Linked DNA regions of Homo sapiens: regions 1 and 3 are each linked to region 2. Evidence: promoter capture Hi-C in 16 types of primary human blood cells and fetal thymus (Javierre and others, 2016). All regions are on one chromosome and are shown on one strand. Each heading gives the region's core, a stretch centred on a gene start or on the middle of the fragment in contact. The rest is flanking DNA. Distances are from core to core; before and after follow the strand shown.

What was found. Contacts are between HindIII fragments. The CHiCAGO score rates a contact against its expected background, and 5 or more counts as called.
Region 1: a contact is called between a fragment that was not itself captured here and the fragment with the promoter of WDR1 in region 2, in 1 of 17 cell types (M0 macrophages). The highest score is 5.2, in M0 macrophages.
Region 3: the fragment with the promoter of HS3ST1 here is called in contact with the fragment with the promoter of WDR1 in region 2 in 6 of 17 cell types (M0 macrophages, fetal thymus, naive B cells and 3 more); the score reaches 11.4 in M0 macrophages.

Annotation. Positions count from the first base shown.
Region 1 is chr4:11,490,191-11,494,398 of GRCh38, reverse strand. No RefSeq gene overlaps it. Among named protein-coding and RNA genes, the nearest start is that of HS3ST1, 63 kb to the right of the region's middle. The HindIII fragment of the contact is 1,150 bases long and covers 1,454-2,603 here.
Region 2 is chr4:10,114,833-10,119,499 of GRCh38, reverse strand. WDR1 (WD repeat domain 1) reads left to right here and starts at 2,701. Exons shown (of 15, transcript NM_017491.5): 1 at 2,701-2,849; 2 at 3,266-3,387. The coding sequence starts at 2,834. LOC124900666 (a long non-coding RNA gene) reads right to left here and starts at 2,411. Exons shown (of 2, transcript XR_007058030.1): 1 at 282-2,411; 2 at 23-173. It also overlaps the pseudogene RNA5SP155. RefSeq lists enhancers at 1,200-1,289, 1,370-1,469, 3,240-3,389, 3,040-3,844 and silencers at 2,390-2,509, 2,520-2,929, 3,010-3,159. The HindIII fragment of the contact is 9,752 bases long and covers 1,845-4,667 here.
Region 3 is chr4:11,427,447-11,431,515 of GRCh38, reverse strand. It overlaps HS3ST1 (heparan sulfate-glucosamine 3-sulfotransferase 1), which reads left to right and starts at 2,622. Exons shown (of 2, transcript NM_005114.4): 1 at 2,622-2,817. RefSeq lists a silencer at 2,477-2,656 and an enhancer at 2,747-2,966. The HindIII fragment of the contact is 3,893 bases long and covers 1,289-4,069 here.

The DNA of each region.
Region 1 (4,208 bases), core at 779-3,278, 1.4 Mb before region 2:
TTTATTCTTCCCCATAGCAAACACCAATCAGAAACATCAGAAACAAACAGACCACAGAAAACCAGAGTCAAAACCGGCATTTTGTCAACTGATTAGATAGCAGTTAGTTTAATGCTAACATTAATCAAGGGCTGATTGCTCCATTGTGAGGAACAAGGACTATGTGCAAAGATTAATACACAAGATCTGGTTCAGAATATCTCTGCAGAAACCCCAATGCAGTAATTAAGAAGAACACAAAATGAAGGTTATTGATCCGTTATGTTATTGAGAAACAACATAATTGATATGTTAAATCTTAATTGTTCATTCCAAAGTAAAAGAGACAGTTCTCACAGATCATTAGTAACAAGATTTTTTTGTTGTTTTTATCATTTAAAACAAAATATTGAGTTCATATGTTACCCTACTTCAAATAAACATTGATTTAATTGTCAAGAAATCTTCATTTGTAAGTATTTAAAATTATCATTCTTTGGACAAATCTGAGGCAATAGAATTCAGGCTTTGGAGTCAGACAGATTCTACTCATCTGACTTTGGGGAATCAAGTTTGTCATTCGATCTCTCTGGGCCTCAGAAATCTCTTTTATAAAGTGGCAATGATAATGGCCACCTCACCAATTTGTTAGAGGGATTCAGGGAGAAAGTCGATGTCTAAGAGCCAGTCTAGAACACTGCCTAGCAGCAAAGACAATGGATCAAAACCACTGTCTTTCAAACCCAGCTTTGCCACTGATCAGCTGTGCAACCTTAGACACATTACTTAACCTCTCTGTGTGCCAATTTCCACATCTCTAAAGAGGAATAATAGTAATAGGCATTTCTGACAGCGTTCTTGTGAGGATTAAATAAATGAAGTGTTTGGAAGGTGGTCTTGAAAATTATAAGCACTAGATAACTGTTCATGTATTGCTATTATTTGAAAGGGTTTAGGAACATAGCTGATTCTTAATAGATATCCACTGCAGCATTTCCCCCTTTGCAGCTGGATGTTCAATGATTTAAACCAGAGCTCTTGCCTTTTTTTATATATATGTACAAATGAACAGGAAAGGAGACAAATTAAAGCAAGGTCTGTTGTTCTGTTTGCCTTGTGCAGTGGTGCAATCTCAGCTGACTGCAACCTCTGCCTCCCAGGTTCAAGCAATTCTCCTGCCTCAGCCTCCCAAGTAGCTGGGATTACAGGCATCTGCCACCAGGCCCAGATAATTTTTTTTTTTTTTTTTTTGTATTTTTAGTAGAGATGGCATTTCACCACGTTGGCCAGGCTGGTCTTGAACTTCTGATCTCAGGTGATCCACCAACCTCAGCCTCCCAAAGTGCTCTGGGATTACAAATGTGAGCCACTGCGCCCGGCCCGCCTTGTTCATTTTTACATGGAACTTCCAGGAAGCCTCCTTTTGCCTAATTCCTTAATGTGAAAAGATAATACAGGAAATATGAAGAAAGCTTGATGGAGGAAGACGAAGATAAATAATTGAGAAATAAAGACTCAAGGAGAAATAGATTGCTCTAATCAGGAAACAGATTCCAATTCACATCTTGACAAAAATTTGAGGACAACTTGCCTTCAAAAAACCAGAATAGGGCGTTGGAAAAAAAGAAATTGTAAGATAACAAGACTTCTTGGGGGTTAAAAAATACTACATGTAAAATTAAAGGGAAAAAATACATGGGCTAAAGGTAAAGTCAAAGAAATTGCACAGAACTTAGATATAAAAAGATAGAGAAGAACGTAAGAGAAGAAACAAATCCAGTGGTCCCGGCATTGAATAAAAGGAATCCTGGACAAGAGTAATAGCGACAAGACAGGGAAGGATATTGCCAAAGATATAATACAAGAAAAGTGTGTAGAACTGAAGGAAATGGAAATCTTCAAATGGAAAATGTCCCATCCACAATAAGATACAACCACACTTCCACTAGAATAGTTAATATTAAAAAATAAATAGGGAAAAATGGAAAATACTAACTGTTGATGAATATTCAGACAAACTTATACTTTCATGCACTGCAAGTAGAAATATAAAACAGTACAGCCTCTTTAGAAAAAATAATTGTCGATACCTTATAAACATAAATAAGTAATTACCAGATGACCCAAGAGTCTCACTCCTAGTTATTTGCCCAAGAGAAGTCAAAATATCTGGCCACACAAACACCTGTAAATAAAAGTTTATAGCATCTTTATATGATATCAAGAAGCAACTCAAAGGACCATCAAATCATCAGTTGGTGATTGGATAAATAAATTTTGGTACATACCAACAATGGAATGCTACAGTAACAATAAACAATAATGGAATACTACAGTAATAATAAGAAACAAGCTACTGATATATTCAACAACATGAATAAATCTCAAAAGTATTATGTGAAAGAAGTGAGACACAAAGGTCTGTATACTGTTTGAGTCTATTTATGTCACATTCTGGCAAAGACAAAATAAAGAGATGGAAATAAGGTTAGTGGTTGTCAGAAATTGGAGATGAGGAGTTGAGATCAATTAAGAAGGAGCAAGAGGGAACTCTTGGTGTTGCTAGAAATATTCTATATCATCAGTTGGTGATGAATACATGATAGTATACCTTTATGAAAGCTTAAACTGTACTTCGAAAGAGTAGATTCAATTATTTGTTAACCCTTCAGCAAATATGATGCCAGTAAAAAGGAAAAGGCCCACTAAGTGCCAAACGAGATGGTTTTTTGAAAGCTCTCATTAGGGATGTCGTTTAAAAAATTCAGGCTGGGTGTGGTGGCTCACACCTATAATACCAGCACTTTGAGAGACTGACGTAGGCGGTTTACCTGAGGTCAGGAGTTCCAGACCAGCCTGGCCAACATGTTGAAACCCTGTCTCCACTAAAAACACAAAAATTAGCTGGGCATGGTGGTGGATGCCTGTAATCCCAGCTACTTGGGAGGCTGACACAGAAGAATTGCTTGAACCTGGGAGGTGGAGGTTGCCGTGAGCTGAGATGGCACCACTGCACTTCAGCCTGGGTGACAAGGAAAGACCCCAAGTCAAAAAAAAAAAAAAAAAAAAATAGAACACTAATGATAAAACAAAGAACCTACAGTCTTATGGAGAGGTTAGGGTATCTTCAAATACATCAGGAACACTGGATGCCAGAAAACAACAGAGAAAGGATTTCCAAGATGTAAGGGACAAACAGTTTCCAACCCAGAATTTTATACACAGCCAAATTGTCAGGGAAGATAAGAATGAAGTTTATTTCTCACATACACTCTTAGGAAGTTCCTTGAGAATGTACTCCAGCATACACGAAAATAAAAAAAAAAAGATGACATGACCACCAGAAAGTGGTGAGATCAATACAGGGCAGTAGAAACAGGAAGTCTAGAGAATGTTGTTAATGAAGCCATTTTACAGGGCAAATAATCTGTATTGGGTTAAAAGAATGAAAAGAATGATCACCCCCTAAAAAGGGATAAATCAGAACAGATAGTAAGGTTGGAAATGTAGAAACAAGAGGCATAAGTAGGCTGGGCGCAGTGGCTCTGGCCTGTAAACCCAGCACTTTGGGAGGCTGAGGCAGGAGGATCACTTGAGGTCAGGAGTTTGAGACCAGCCTGGCCAAGACGGCAAAACACCATCTCTAATAAAAATAGACACACACACACACACACACACACACACACACACACACACAAAAATAGCCAGGCGTGATGGTGAGCAGCTGTAATCCCAACAACCCAGGAGGCTGAGGTACAAGAATTGTCTCAACCCTGGGAGACAGAGGTTGCAGTGAGCCGAGATTGCGCCACTGCCCTCCAGCCTGGGTGACAGAGCAAGACTCTCTCAAAAAAAAAAAGAAAAAAGAAGAAGAAGAAGATGAGGAGGAATAAGATGAAAGCACAATTTGCAAAAAAATTTAAGAAGAGAAAAGAAAACCTTCCAGGGAAACAAAACTGTATAAGAAAACTGTGATTCATATTTGAAGCCATCATGAAACATTGGAAGAGAAACTCAGCAGGCTTCGGGAAGGACATTCCAGTGGGTTTCAAGCACACCTTCACATCTATATCTGTGCATAATGTCGGGGGACAGGGCAGGATCTAAACACAGAACGATGCTGATGTCACTACATGCAAATCACACAGATTCGCTGAGAAAACTCACTGAAGTTGAAAATGAAACAGCAGAATTATATATTTGTGAAAAAAAATCAAATTTGAGAATTT
Region 2 (4,667 bases), core at 1,452-3,951:
ATAAGCTGTAGAGCCCAGCAGCTGGGAGTTTGGATATGTTTTACTCAAGTTCGACTGTTTAGTTTTCAGTGTCAACTCCAGCAAGGCTTTATGCACGAGTGTAAAGGTTACCAGCTTGCAAGAGCTTGAAGTTGGTCCTTCGTTTTCTTAATCTTGTTACACGAATGCACTACCTGTGAATGCAATTATACCATTTGTTTTAAGGGTCTCAAGGTGATTTGATGAGTTCTAAGTTATCAAAGCAGATGCAGCGGCCTACAAGCCGGGCCTGCGTATCTTACTTTAGGAATCTGTTTTGTACATTCTCCACGGCTCCTCAGTTCGCAGAGCTACTTTCATATCCGTTATTTCCTGATTAACAGTTGTGGGTGGGGAGTGGGGTCATCCCTAGGAGCATCTTCCAGGTGTCAGGGTTATTCCTGAGAGTTAAAGTTAGGGAACGCGGGAATGAGAAGCAGTGTTTGCAAGGGGTTGAAGTTGCAATTTAAAATGAGACCGGTGACACTCATCAACTAACATTTGAGCAATTAAGTACTTCTGAAGGACACAGGAGTCAGCCAAGTAGATCTCAGGTAAGAGTTTCAGGAAAACACCCTCCGAAGCCAGTACCCAAGGCAAAGATGATACAGATGAGGGGAGGCGGACAACGGAGTCTAAGTGACCCGGAGACTGTCATCCAGGACCCTAATGGGCCGTTTTCAAGACTAGCTTTTACTTCATGAAACTTGGAGCCCCTACAGACAAGCTGAGGAATATTTTACTTCGGATGGATCACTCAGCTACCTGGAGAACACACAAGGTTAGGAAGAATAGGAGACAGGCAACATGGCCACTAACCCAGGTGAGCCACGAGAGACTGCTCTACAGAAGTAGGTAGCAAGAGACTAACCTTGATACAACCTTAAGCAGAACAGACCTTTCAGAGAAGCAGGAACCGCTCACAGCGTGGGTTTCAGAGTTTTTAGCTACCCGCAAGTACTTTGGTTTCTCCCACTTTTACCACCCTCCTAGCCCCCAGAGCCCCAATGGAAAACTTGTACCCACGCTACTGAAAGACGAGACTAGAAGCTTGGACACTTCACATTCCCTGCTCTCCCTTCCACAATTGAGCCACTGCCCTGGTTTTAGAAGTGGGGCTTGTTTTGCTCTGAAGTAACCCTTAACGTCCTTAGAAGTAGCAGCTCCCCTACCCCTCTCCCCACGCCTTTGCCTTTTAAAAACCTTAACTTTTGAGAGAGAGAAACAGCACAAGTTCAGGCCCAGCAGAGTAACCCCTACGTTGTTGCCAGCAACTACTTCAAGGGCAGTTAACCGTGCTTAAAGACGCCAAAAGCATCCATCTCCCGCTTACAACAACATTTAGCTACCCCCCACCCACGTACTTTGCTTTCTCCCACTTTTACAACCCTCCCACCCCCAGAGCCCCGAGGGAAAGCTTGTACCCATTCTACTGAAAGATGAGACTAGAAACTTGTACACTTCACAGCGCCTGCTCTCCAGCTGAGCCACTACCCGGGTTTTACAAGTGGGGCTTGTTTTGCTTTCTTAGGAAATAACCTTTAACTTCCTTAAAAGCAGCAGCGCCCCCACCCCCACTTTTGCCTTTCAAAAGCTAAACTTTTGAGAAAAAGCACGAGTTCAGGCCTAACAAAGAGTAACCCTTACGTTCTTGTTGCCAGTAACTACTTCAAGAAAAAGCACTTAACCGTGCTTAGAGAAAGACGCCAACAGCATTCCTCTTCCACTTACAACAACATTCAGCTACCCGCCCGCACCCCGCCAAATACTTTGCTTTCTCCCACTTTTACAACCCTCCCAGCCCCCAGAGCCCCAAGGGGAAAGCTTGTACCCATCCTACTGAAAGATGAGACTAGAAACTTGGACACTTTACAGCCCCTGCTCTCCCGCCACAACTGAGCCACTACCCTGGTTTTAGGAGTGAGACTTGTTTTGTTTAGGAAATAACCTTTAACTTCCTTAAGACCGACAGCTCCCCCATCCCCCACGCCTTTTTTGCCTTTCAAAAGCTCAACTTTTGAGAGAAAAAGCACGAGTTCAGGCCCAACAAAGAGTAACCCCTACGTTCTTGTTGCCAGCAACTACTTCAAGCAAGGGCACTTAACCGTACTTTAAGAAGACGTAAAAAGCATCCCTCTCCTGCTTACAAAACCCGAGCAGGAGGACTGGCGGCTGGGCAACGCCCGGGACCGGTCAAAAAGGAGAGGCCGGGGAGCGCCCGCCACGCAACGCGGTCACAGGTACAGAGAGGTTTTTCCAGACCCCCACCAAAGCCCGCCAGTACTTTCAGCGTCTTTAAGACCCCCCCGCAAATAAACTTCCTACAGCCCAGCTTCTCCTACAAGCTAGCAACAGAAAGGCACCCACCCCCCGACTCCCAGAAGCATTCTGACGCGGCTGCTTGTCTGCGCCGCCTTTTCAAGGGCCCGCGGGGCGTGCTATACGTCACTTCCGGGGCGGGGCGAGCAAGGCGGAGGCGGGGCCGGGGCCGGCGGGGGAGGGGAGCGCCAGGTCCGCGCAGGCTCGCCGGGACCGCAGCCGCCGAGCCGAGCGCTTGACTATATATGGTCAAAGCTGGGGGCGAGCCGCGCGCGGGACCGCGCTTCCGGGTTCGGGGCGTCCGCAACCACAGCGCGCAGGGCAGGCGCGAGCTGGCCTCTGAGCCCCGGCCTCGGACCGCCCACTCCACTCCCGGCACGCCCGGTGCCGCCTTCCGGCTCCAGTCCCCGGGCTCGGCCTCGGCGAGGTGTAATTCGCAGCGCGGGCCGGCCCCGGAGGCTCTCGGCGAGCGCGGCGCGGTAACAAGTGGGCGAGGATGCCGTACGAGATCAGTAAGTGCCGCGGCGCGGGGCCCCCGAGCGGCCGCCGCGCTGCCCCGGCCCCGGTCCCCGGCCCCTAGGCGCCGTGCGGGTGGCGGGGGAGTCCTCGGCGCGGGGGAGGGGTGCGGGCGCCGGCCGGAGGCGTGGCGGGGCCGCCCTCGGTGGTGCAGGGCGGGACCCCCGACGGGGGGTGCGCCCCCAAGTTGGCGCCGTGGGCCGAGCCGGAGGAGCCCCGCTGCCCCCAAGGGCCTGGCCCGGGGCGCGGACCAGGAAGTCGCGCGGTTCCTGGCGCTCGTGGAAAGTGGAGGCCGCCCTCCCGGCGCAGTCAACAGGTGACCGGCCGAGACCGGTCCGGGGCTCCTTCTCCCTTCTGTCCCCGCCGTCCCCGCCCTGCCCTGACATGCCCCGCCGCATTTGTGTCTCCGCAGAGAAGGTGTTCGCCAGCCTCCCGCAGGTGGAGAGGGGCGTCTCCAAGATCATCGGCGGCGACCCTAAGGGCAACAATTTTCTGTACACCAATGGAAAGTGCGTCATCCTAAGGAACATCGACGTGAGTACCCCCTACCCCGGGCGCGGTTCTGCTCCGGAGCCACCTTGGGATGGGATAATTCGCCTTCCTCTCCACTTCTCACCTCCTGCCCATTGGCCCGGGGAGGGTGAGGGCGCCACGCCCCCTCTACCGGGAGCCACACCTCGGAGCCCCGGAAGCCGGCCTCAGATTCACCCAGGTCCTTGTCTGCTCCTTCTTGATGAGGAAACTGAGTCTTAGTTCGTTTCTGTCTACGGTCATAGCACCCTGAAAGCGCCGGATCGCCTCTGATCTTGGAAGCTAAGCACGGTCAGGCCTGGTTAGTACGTGGATGGGAGATTAGATTAGTTCATTCCTTAAAAGCAAGGGCTCCGGATTTGAGGGATCAGACTGACCCGGTCGGCCGCTGCGTGACCTTGAGAAGATTGGCGATTTGGGCATCTCTGAGCCCCAGTTTTCTCGTCTGTAAAACAGATGATGAGATGATGACCACTCTCGCTTCGCCTGCTGGCTGGGCAGATGGAATGAATGAGCTGCTGGCGTCCCTCAAGCCCAGCGGTGCCTGGTGCACTTTGAGCCCTTGCTGAATGGAATGGCACTCAGCTAACTCGCTGTTAATACCCTGGTCTTCCAGTATGGCAGAGCCCGGAAAAACACCCGGGCCTCTGGGCCAGCCAGATCTGCCACCATGGATCTAAGCCCCAAAGCAAAAACAGGAAGCAGTGTTTTCCCATGAATCATTCTCTGCAAGCCTCCGGTACCCAGGCTGAAAAGGCTTCTAGAGCCAGCTCCTTGGGAAATCCTTGCAAATTCATGTTATTCCTCTGTAATTGTTGGGGTGACCCAGTCTGTCAGTCTCCCTCCCTTCCTGGGTTACACGCTTAAATTTTGCTTTTCCCTTCCTCAGCCTGAGTGATGGAATTGGTGGGGTGGGAGTTGGAGGTGCCGGCCCGGCCATTGGGTGATTTCTCCTGTGCTGTGCTTAGTGGGGGCGGCTGGCACAAAGATGTATGTTTTGATTGATGCCATAGGCATACAAGGGTTGTCAACTTAAAGTCAGCCTGATTTCCCTTGGTAGGTTGGGACTGTTGATCGGACACACTTGCCCTCCAGGAGGCCAGCAACTGGCTGAGGGAATGAAGGGGTCTCTGGGTCTCAGTTTCCTTCTCTGTGAAAGGAGAAGCCTCTTGGTCCGAAGAGCTGCTGGCTCTGCCCGCATCTGTCTCGTTAACCCAGGCAGTCGCTGCTGTTCCTCTGCTGGAAGACAGAGCTCTACCTGCCCTGGATTGCTGGGCCCCTCA
Region 3 (4,069 bases), core at 1,373-3,872, 1.3 Mb before region 2:
AGTGTTGTACACATACTAGGTGCTCAATAAAGACTTCGAGATCTTAAAATATTAGCAGTACAGAGATCTTCCACTAAAACCCTCTCATTTTTCAGTTGTTGGAACTGATAAAAAGAGTCTTGGGCCACACAACTGACTGACAGACACTTTTGCAGTCAACTACTACTGTGTCTCCTAACAGCCTCTATTCTCATGCCCACGGCTTTGAAAGGGAAACATGTTTGACTTAAACCCTGACTCCTTGAGGGAAGTTCCATTTACAAAGTTTTTTTTTTTTTTTTTTAAGAGCATAGTATGTTTCAGATACCATGCAGGATTGTAGGATTCTGGGATTCAGATACCATGGAGGATTCATCATTAAATCACGATACCCAAGCTCAAGGCGTTTATAATCTATTAGAGAAGACAGATCCCTAAATAGATGTTTCAATAATGTGATTGTGTTGTCATAGGAGAGCTAAGCTCTGGCACTACATGAGCTTCTGGATAAGAAACCTAACTCATGACCAGAAGACTTCAGGGAGAGCTATTTAGGAGCAGTGGCAAATGCCTGGACATACACATAAAACTAAGTAAGAACAAAATAGCCAGTTGGTGTTTTTATTTATCTGAATGTAAGAACATAGATTATCGATCAATGAACAATTGCTCAGATTTAAAAAGAAATGAGGAAAACTAAAATGTTAGTCCTCAAATTCCTGTCACTTCCCACATGTGCCCTGCAGTCATTTCCTGCAAATGGAAACTTCCAACAAAATCTCTGGGCTGGAGACCTGGGGTTCCAGTTTCTTTCAAGGTCTTGTGGTAGGGAACTAAGTGGGTGAGTAACCTGCCTTTGGCTTCCAGGGTGCAAACAGAATCATTGCTAACCCCCTTTGTGTCTCACAATGGGTAATGAAATTCATACTATGGCACCAAAGCACTTTGAGCTCTTTAGAAAAAGTAATCATACCAACTTAGAGCATTAAAACCACCCCGTATTTTGAAGGACTCATGATCTGCACTGTGCTTGGCTGCTGGTGGAAGCTTAAAGACACCAGTAATTGGCAGAACTTTATCTTAGACTTCCATTTGACCCTCACAACCTCACACATGATTTTACACAGCTTCCTATAATGGGGGAGAAAAGCCCTTCTTTTAAATCTAATGTTAGTTTAAATGCTAAGGCTTTCAAAGTGGGCCTTTAAAGTCACTTTTTAGAATTTGTATTTTTTTTTAACCTAAAATAGACATGCCAACATTATTCTGACTAAAAGAAGTAGACAAGGTCATTCAACTCCTAAAAGCTTATTTTCCAAAAGCACAGTTAGGTCTCAGCTTTCAGGGTGCTTCTGGCTGTATCAAAAAGACAGAATATACTGGTCACTGTGTTGTTTTCTGAAAGTGCCGAGGGTAATCTGTGTATGAGTTAAAGGGCCAATTTCCTATAGGAACCTTCTCTTAGATGGGATTTTTTTTTAATTAAACAATGTTGGTGAAATATATTTAAACGTAAATCACAAATTCGAAGTCTTCCAAATATTTATTTACTAATGTGGAAGACATGGAAACTACAGTAATCTCATTTAAAGGAAGTTACTTTGATGTGCATTTGCTTTTGGCGGGGTATGATTGCTGACCTGCCTTTGAGGGCAACTTCCTTTGGCTCAGGTAAGCAGGCAAACCCGTTTCTCCAAGGCGATTCCAACCCCACGCCCCTCAAAACCTTAAATCTTAAATTGAGTTATTGGGTGCAGGTCCTTTCTCCCACAGAACCTCCCAGCTTCCGGAATAGAGGAGCGGGGCAGAAATATCCTGCTTTTTATTTCAGAGCTGACGTTTGCAATCCTAGTGCACTAGCGGAAAAAAAAAAAAAAAAAAAAAAAAAAAAAAGCTGAATTTTCCGCGCTCTCCTGGCAAATTGGCGTCCGCTCTCCGACGCTAAACCAAAGGAAAAGGAGTGTTCAATGGCGACAGGGCGCTCTTTGAAGCCGGCTCCTCACGCGGATTCTGGCCCAGGCCGCCGCTCCGGTCCCAGTCCGGCTGCAGAGCGAATTGGAGAGGATGGCACCTCCTGCTTCCCGGGGGGCGGAAGGAGCGCCAGCGCCTAAGGTGGGTCACCTGCCAGGAAGGGAATACGCATGGTGCAGACTCACGTGGGAGGAGCACAGGTCCCGGGTACAAGTGCCGAGCTGGCGACTTAGAGAAGAGGTAGACTCGGGCTCAGACCAAGCAGGCGTAAGGGAGTAGACGGGACGTCCCGTGTTTGCAGTGACGGCGGAGTCACCCATCCCAGCAGCCTCACCTTCTTGGAGCGCTGGTCCCTCCCCTTGGACTGAAACCCCAGGGGCCACCGCACCGGGTGGGCGGGACCGACTACTACCCGACCAGCCGCTGGAGCTGCGTGCCAGGCGGGGCTGTGCGGAGCAGCTGAGCGCAGAGCGGAGCACCAGGCACCTAGCGGGCCGGACTCTGGGCGGCACCCGAGCGGGCCGGGCAGCAGTGGGCGCTCGCGATCCTCCTCTGCCCAACGCGCTCTCCCTCCGGGCCCGGCCTCCTCCGTCCCCTCCTTTTGCTCCCGCTCCTCCTCCCGCTCCTCCCCCTCCTCGGGATTGAGCACCAAAACGCCCGCCTGCAAGGTCCTCTGCGCCCTGGCAGCCAGGAGTCGCCGCCACGACAGCCGGGTCTCAGTGGGTGCCTGCGCCTTCTCCCCGCCCGCCTGCCCCGGGCCATCCAGAAACTTGCTCTACCCGCCGCGGGTGCTCGGCAGTGCTGCCCATGGCCCAGCCTAGGAGCCTATTTAGGGCGCCGGACGGGCTGGACAGAGGCGCGGCTCAGGTGAGTGCGGCGCGCGCGGGGTGGGAGAGTGGCAGGACGCAGGTGTAGAGGGCTCCGAGGTGCCTTTGTCTGGCGTTCTGGACTTCGGGCAAGTGCAGAACCTAAGAAGAATCGAGGCTGGAGCAGGTGGAGTGGATGCAGAGGGAACCAGGAAGCAAAGGCTGGGGATTTTCCCATCCTCCTCACCTCCTGCCCTAGCACCTCTGCTCTGGAAGTCCCGAGGGACCGGTTGATCTGTAAGGACAGGGACCCAGATTTCTGACTCTTACTGGGTTGGATGTTTTCCCCCCCTGCAGAGTCGTGAGGTTCGCTCCTGCCGGCCGCTTCGCGACCGCAGCTTCACCATAGGACCCTGTAGGGCAGCGAGAGCGCAGCACTCAACGGATCCTGGGTACCACCTGGGGCCAGAAACTGGGGCGAGGACACAGCCCGCAAAAGTAACTCGGCTGAGGGAGCCTTTGGGGGTGGAGAAGCCTTGGTCGGGTTTGCCTTTGCATTTGGTTGGAGATAGGCATCTCCCAAAGAGAGAGATTGAGGTGACAGCCCTGACAATAAACCTCTCATCCCTAATGCCAATTACATGAGGGTCTTGATTTTTTTCTTGTTACTTTTTACTGATTTTTTTCCCCCTTCGTGGTTTTCTATTTCCGGGCCCTTGGGTAGTGGCAGCGGATGGAGGTGAGGGATGGCGGGGTGCGAACCCGCGGTTGGAACGCCTAGACCCCAGCTCCCAGGAAGGGTCTTATTCGCGGAGCTTGACCTCTCCAGGTGCGCTCTACCAGCCAGGGGGCGGACGGCGCGCTGCTCCTCCTTCTAGCCCCAGCCTGTCCCAGGAAGCGGAGGACAGACCCAGAACGTAGGCGGATGATGGGAAGAAGAAGCTGGAGCCAAAGCCGGGTGCCGGCGCGGGATGGGGTGTGCTGGGCTCTGCAGTTATAGGTCTATAACTCTGCAGTTATAGGCGCTATAGGTCTTCCATCTCTTTCCCTCCCCTGGGAGCCAGCGATTCCTCGCACACTCAGGGCGCTCTCTTGGGCCAAGGGTTGCATCCTCCCTCTTCCTCCTCCTTTGCAGATCCAGTGGTACCCTTGCCTCGCCTTGCGCGAGTCTCGCTCCTCCCTTTCCCACAATGTTATCATGAGCTATTTTTATCTACAACTTGTGCCAAGATGCTTTTGGGGGGATTCTAGGGAGGCCACTCCAAATCCACTGTCTTTGCGCTGCGCTCCGAGAAACAGTCTCCTGTTAGCAT